Regions from separate parts of the Homo sapiens genome. Here region 2 is linked to region 1. The links are contacts of gene promoters, found by promoter capture Hi-C in human tissues and cell types (Jung and others, 2019). All regions are on one chromosome and are shown on one strand. The core of a region is centred on a gene start or on the middle of the fragment in contact, and the rest is flanking DNA. Distances in the headings are between cores, read along the strand shown. Region 1 holds the start of APOBEC3F (apolipoprotein B mRNA editing enzyme catalytic subunit 3F). Region 2 holds the start of ENTHD1 (ENTH domain containing 1).

Evidence for each region. The method cuts DNA at HindIII sites, captures the fragments that hold promoters and counts their contacts. A contact is called where the count stands out against the background at its distance.
Region 2: the fragment with the promoter of ENTHD1 here is called in contact with the fragment with the promoter of APOBEC3F in region 1 in 1 of the 25 tissues and cell types used here (dorsolateral prefrontal cortex).

Annotation. Positions count from the first base shown.
Region 1 is chr22:39,039,190-39,042,719 of GRCh38, reverse strand. APOBEC3F (apolipoprotein B mRNA editing enzyme catalytic subunit 3F) reads right to left here and starts at 1,856. Exons shown (of 7, transcript NM_145298.6): 1 at 1,743-1,856. The coding sequence starts at 1,759. RefSeq lists enhancers at 157-934, 1,987-2,046. The HindIII fragment of the contact is 19,854 bases long and covers 1-3,530 here.
Region 2 is chr22:39,892,088-39,895,117 of GRCh38, reverse strand. ENTHD1 (ENTH domain containing 1) reads left to right here and starts at 1,358. Exons shown (of 7, transcript NM_152512.4): 1 at 1,358-1,423. It also overlaps a transcript of GRAP2 not described here. The HindIII fragment of the contact is 22,421 bases long and covers 1-3,030 here.

The DNA.
Region 1 (3,530 bases), core at 607-3,106:
CTCAGGGTCCAGCTCTGGTCGTTCCAGGAGTACATTCCCCACCTTCCCAGTATTTCTCCCACCCATTCTCCAACGCATTAGTAAAATGCAAAAGAGAACAAAGTTCTTGGCTGGACATTATGGCTCATGCCTGTAATCCCAGCACTTTGGGAGGCCGAGGTAGGCCCATCACTTGAGGTCAGGAGTTTGAGACCAGTCTCACCAACATGGTGAAACCCAGTCTCTACTAAAAATATAAAAATTAGCCAAGCGTGGTAGTGGGTGCCTGTAATCCCAGCCACTGTGGAGGCTGAGGCAGGAGAATCGCTTGAACCTGGGAGGCGGAGGTTGTAGTGAGCCGAGATCGTGCCACTGCACTCCAGCCTGGGCTACAAGAGCGAAACTCCATCTCAAAAAAAAAAAAAAAAAAGAGAGAGAGAATAAAACTATTCACCCCAAAATAATAGATTTTAACCTTTCAGCCAGTTCCTTCTGACATTTCACCTCTGTATATTACTATTGTTAAATCATGGTAGAACCGAATTCTGAGGCCCAGGCCACTCTTCTAAGTGCTGCGCGGATGTGAGCTCATGTGAGGCTGCCCTAGGCCCGCACGGGCCATTCCCATCTTACAGAGGAGGTGCCAGAGGCGCAGAGAGATGGGGTAACCTGCCCAGGCCACAGAGCTGGGGACGGATGGGGCTGGGGCCTCTTACCAGACCAGCCCTGTCCAGTCTCTGTGTCACCAGCCTTGCAGGAGGGAGCCATTGGGGACCAGACTCTCTTCTTACTAAATTTTAAAATAATAGCATTTCTCCTGATCATTGAGTTTTTTTCCCATATATTCCATGTTTTTTGTTTTTGTTTTTTTTTCTTTTGAGACGAAATTTGGCTCTTGTTGCCCAGGCTGGAGTGCGATGGGGCGATCTCGGCTCACTGCAACCTCCGCCTCCTGGGTTCAAGCGATTCTCCTGTCTCAGCCTGTGGAGTAGCTGGATTATAGGCGCCCGCCACCACACCCGGCTAATTTTGTATTTTTAGTAGAGACAGGGTTTATCCATGTTGATCAGGATGGTCTCGAACTCCCGACCTCAGGCAATCCACCCACCTCAGCCTACCAAAGTGCTGGGATGACAGGTGTGAGCCACCGCACCCGGCCACTATATTCCATGTTACTCGTGTCATTTATAAACAGTGAATGCTGATAGTGGAGGAGGAGCGTGTGTTTGGGGTCATCTGCATCCTCCTCTGCCCACAGTGGAGACATCCTTGGAAGATACGATTTATCTTGTGCTTCAGAGACCATTCCCTCCCCACACCCTCTCCTAAGACTTGCTATTTAAGCAAAGTAAATGTTACAGAAAATCCATCAAAGCACTGTGAACAAAATTCCACATTGCTCTAATCATCCTTTGGTTCAATTCTCCCAGTTCCAGAGTTCAGGAATGGCGGAAAGAACACAGAGGGAGCACCCTCCCAGGGCCGGGAGCACCAGCCCTGCCATGACTTTCGGTGGCGGGGGAGAGTCTCAGCAGGGCACCTGGGCTGGGGCAGGTGGGGAAGCGGCCTATTCAGAAGCAGCAGTGGGGCAACCACAGAGCAGGAAAAAGAGCCTGGCTGGGAGTGGCGGGGGCAGGGGAGCCAGAGGGGAGGGAGCCCAGGGCTGGGGCTGGGGCAGGGGGAGGCCAGGGCTGACGCCCAGCAGAGCCACCAGGCAGGAAGGGGCAGCAGAGGGGCCCAGCGGGTAGAGCGGGCAGCGGTACCTGAAGTGAGGCTTCATCCTTGGCCGGCTAGTCCCGACTAAGATCTTTGTCTGGAGCACCAGGGTTTCACTTTCTGCTCCAGGCTCCAGGTTTCAGGACAGCCCTCCCTAAAGTGACCTCCCAGGGCCTCGTAGTCATGGCCCCTCCCCCTTCCTGCTCAGGCGCTGGTGTAGGAGGCCCTGGGACGCTTTATCTTCCTCAGTCTCTCACCCTCTTTCTGGTTTTCTCTGGGGCCCTCCCCCTGGCAGAGGGACCTCTGATAAAGACAGGCCGCTCTGTGCGGCAGGACCCAAGGCAATTGCAAAGGGAAAGAGAAAGTCATTGCAGCCAGCGCCCGCGAGGTGGGTCCACACCAGGCTGAGCCAGCAGAGCACAAGCCCCTCCCCTGGTGGTCCCGCCCAGCTGGAGCCTCCTCTCCACCATCAAGACAGACAGGCTGATGCCTCCGCAGGGACTCCCGGATCCTGCCCTCGGGGATCATCCCAGAGACGGCCCCCACCCAGCGGCCATGGGGACAGGGAGGGAGAGTAAAGGGCCAGGTGTCTGCCTCTCCCCAGGCCTTCACCCTCGGAGGCCACCGTGGGAGGGAGGGACAGCAGGTGGGTGTGGGCCTCAGATGTCCCACCGGGATGCCATGCGCGCCCCCACACTGAGCTCTTTCCTTCCTGCTTCTCCTTCTTCCCCATCTCCTGCCCGGAGTTCCTCCCTGGTGGGCTGAGCTCTCGCCTCCTCTTGTCCCCATGTCATGGAAGAGCAGTGGCTGGTGTCCCAGGCCAGCCTGTCTGGAGCCTCCCTGCGCGTCTCACAGCTCCCTTCCCCTGGTAGCGTGTTCCCATGGCGCGGTGACCTAAAAATTACACAAGGGATGCATTTGGTTTTTTTGTTTGCTTTTGTTTTTTTGTGTTTTTTTGTTTGTTTGTTTGTTTTGAGACGGAGACTTGCTCTGTTACCCAGGCTGGAGTACAGTGGCGTAATCTCAGCTCACCGCAACCTTTGCCTCCCAGGTTCAAAAGATTCTCCTGCCTCAGCCTCCCATGTAACTGCGATTACAGGCACCCACCCCTACGCCTAGGCTAATTTTTGTATTCTTAGTAGAGACAGTGTTTCTCCATGTTGGTCAGGCTTACAGCCGCCCACCACTATGCCTGGCTAATTTTTGTATTTTTAGTAGAGACAGGGTTTCTCCATGTTGGTCAGCTGATCTCGAACTCCCGATCTGAGGAGATCCGCCCGCCTTGGCGTACCAAAGTGCCGGGATTACAGGTGTGAGCCACCGCGCCTGGCCACAATGTATAAATTTGGAAAGGAGATTTTATTTCTTGTTAAGGGTGACAGGCAGCAAGGTAGCCATCCCGCAGCCTGGGAAGAGCAGCCTCTGGGAAACACCAGAGACAGACATTTAGAAGCAGGAGGGGTTGGGGCAGGAGCTTTATGCTGAAGGGGTTGGCTAAACATACATATTCAACAGGCTATAGGAGGAGCTATGAATATTCATGTGGGTGGCTGCACTCCATGCTTATTGAACAAACATGCGTGTAACATATGATCCCAGGCAGGCACAGTGGCTCACGCCTGTAATCCCAGCATTTTGGGAGGCCGAGGCAGGTGGATCATCTGAGGTCAGTGTCAGGCCTCTGAGCCGGAGCTAAGCCATTGTGACCCCTGTGAACTGCACATATACATCCAGATGGCCTGCAGCAGCCAAGAAGTCTGGAGCAGCCAAAAAAACACAAAAGAAGTGAAACAGCCAGTTTCTCCCTTAACTGATTAACCAACCTTAAGACATTC
Region 2 (3,030 bases), core at 109-2,608, 850 kb before region 1:
TTCCCTCTGTTATTTAACCTTCCTCTGCTGCTCCACTAATAGCCTTTGTGACAGTTGTAGTAACTACAGTACATGTAGTTTTTCCAAGATAATAGGCTGGCTCAGCTTTCATGCCTTTACACATGATGTGTCCTTTGCCTCTTACGTCCTCCTCTACTTTGTCTATCCAGTGAACTCCCTGTCATCCTTTAAGATTCAATTCAGATGTAAACTCTTCTGTGAAACCTGCCCTTAAATACTCAGTGGCAGAATTAGATGATCTCTTCTCTCTTACTATGCCATACATATCTTGTTACAATCTTCTCTGACGGTGCCTGTCACCTCCACTAGCCTGTAAACGTATCCAGCAGAGGGCTGCTTTTTATCTCCGAGTCCTTACTGTCTGGCACAAAGTGGGTGCTCACGGAAAATCAGTTGAATACATCAACAATTACCCGTCAGTGGCACCTGAAGCCATCAGTCACTGGAGCTACCCCATCATTGTCCATCACACACACTGCTCTTCATAGACTACTATTACATTCTCAGTCCTTTGAGGTGGCAATCACGTGCTGGTGGTATTTCTAGTCAGTTGAAATGACAGTAGTAACACACTTTTAAAAATGTATTCATGTGCCATGCTGGTGCGCTGCACCCACTAACTCGTCATCTAGCATTAGGTATATCTCCCAATGCTATCCCTCCCCCCTCCCCCCACCCCACAACAGTCCCCAGAGTGTGATGTTCCCCTTCCTGTGTCCATGTGTTCTCATTGTTCAATTCCCACCTATGAGTGAGAATATGCGGTGTTTGGTTTTTTGTTCTTGCGATAGTTTACTGAGAATGATGATTTCCAATTTCATCCATGTCCTTAAAACTTAAATAATAATAAATAAAAAAAAAGAGATATTATGCTAGAAGTCTGAGTATTTTACTGATTTTCCATTTTAAGAATAAATTATCATGGCAAATTTTAAGTTACATACATTATTTTATTGTCTACTTTTTAAAAACATTATCAGCTTACCTTGGCATTTTTTTTCTTTTTTTAATGTCCGTTTTTACGTTGTGAACATTTAGTAAATTAATTTATACTCATTTTTATTTAATTAAGAAAGCAGCTAAGAATAAATGCTAGTGTCTGATTAAACTATTTCCCAGATCTCAAAAAAAAAAAAAAATTTATTCTTTGAAAGGAGGATTAGGGCAGTGTCACAGCCCGGCAGCCTGTGAAACGAAGACACTTACCTTCATTCCCCTTGGTACCCTCCAGCTCAGGTATCTGCAACCATCTTGCTTGACGCCCTGACAGGAACTGCACCAGGCCAGAAAGTGAGGAAGCGGAAGTGGGGACCGGCCTGGGCCCTTGAGCCTGGCTGGAGTAGGTGGAATATCCTGGGGAGAGGAAGTTTGGTCGTTGGGCAGCGGCCGACTTTCCTCTCAGGTAACAGCCTCTGCTTGGGAGTGGTGGTGGGGCTCAAGGCGGGTCTGGAAACATCGGTTGCCTTCCCTCCTCCCGTTTCTTGCCGGCACCGTCGGAGTCCAGGTGGGGGCGGGAGGGCGGCGAGGCCATTACCATCCGCAGGAGGTGAAATCCCTGTGGCGTGACGTGACGCCATCACGTCCCTCTCTCCTTCTAGAGGCTTTCCTGAGGTCCAGCCTTCCCCTCCACTGCCGGTTCTCCTAGGGTAATTGCTGGTCTGATTCTCTGTGTGGCCGAACGCCCAGCACCTGGCTCATCTGGTACACAGTCGTCATCTGAAGTGGGGGTTGTATGAATGAAGACGAGGATGCCGAGGAAAGGCCCTGCCCACAGAAAGTTGATTCTTGCTCAGCCTCCACCCGCCATTTTCAAAATTCTTTCCAAAGCATCTCGTTTCTTCCTCCCCCACGGCCCTGTCTGGCGATTATTCTTTGTGTTGCGGATGAGGGAACTGAGACTTAGAGAAGTTGTTAAGTCTTAGTTAGGAAATGGCAAAGCAGGACCTCAAATCATGGCTTTGAATCCTAATTAAAGGAGAGAGATGAGGCATGTGAAGGCCCAGGTGTGAGCACATTGTGAGCGTTCAATGAAGAGTAGCTGTTTACTCCAGGGTGTGAGGACTGTGTCTTGTGCACCTGTTTCTCCATTTCCTAGAATGGAGCCTGCCACATGGTAAGCTCTGGAAGATTATTAGTTGAATAAATTAATGAACACACACTTAGGGCTGGAAAAGATTAGATTCTCTGCCTCTGACAGTATTCTTTTCATCAAAACAGTAACACCTCCTAATGGCATGGTAGTCTCTATAACCATTTTCCCGTAGCATTCTTGGCCAGAGCTCATTTCCTTACGAGTCAAACTCATGTCTATAGGCAGAACCTGTACAAACACAAGAGCTGTTCTTTTCTCATAGTTCCACCTTAAATGCATCTTTTCAGAGATAGCTCTGGACACTCAGCCTCTTAGATGCTATTGTCATTATTGTCCCAAGTCTTTGGATAAAGTCAGTTCAGCTCCTCTGTTCCTTATTCTCAATCCTGAAATCCAAAAACTTTTGGAAATCAACTTTTCCTCCAACTCATTTGGTGGTAAAACTTGGCCTGAGGCCATTTGTAGTCTTTATTCCAAATATTTACATGTTTTTATTGCAGACATGTTAATGTGTTTAATTGTTCAGAGCAGCTCCACACCTTACTGTGGGTATCATGTAATATATGGTATAGACATGGCACTACTCTTGAAAATTCCACCCCTACCACCGCACCCAAAAGAGAATTTCCACAAATCATCTGGCCTCAAAGGATTGGGATAAAAGATCGTGGACCAATAGTTTAATGCCAGCTGATAAATCATTTCCTGTTAGAATTCAGATGAAATGGGGGGAAGGAAACAGCATTGTGAAAGTGGGCAGATCTAAAAATAACACTAAAAGACCTTTTCTACGTAATCATTTGTTTTGCTGGGAATTATTTAGGAGAGAAAGCTCCTTAACTGAATGGTAAGTTTTAATGTGAGGTTCATGTTTTATATTTCTCCACAAAGCTATACAAATGGTAGGTACTCAAGAA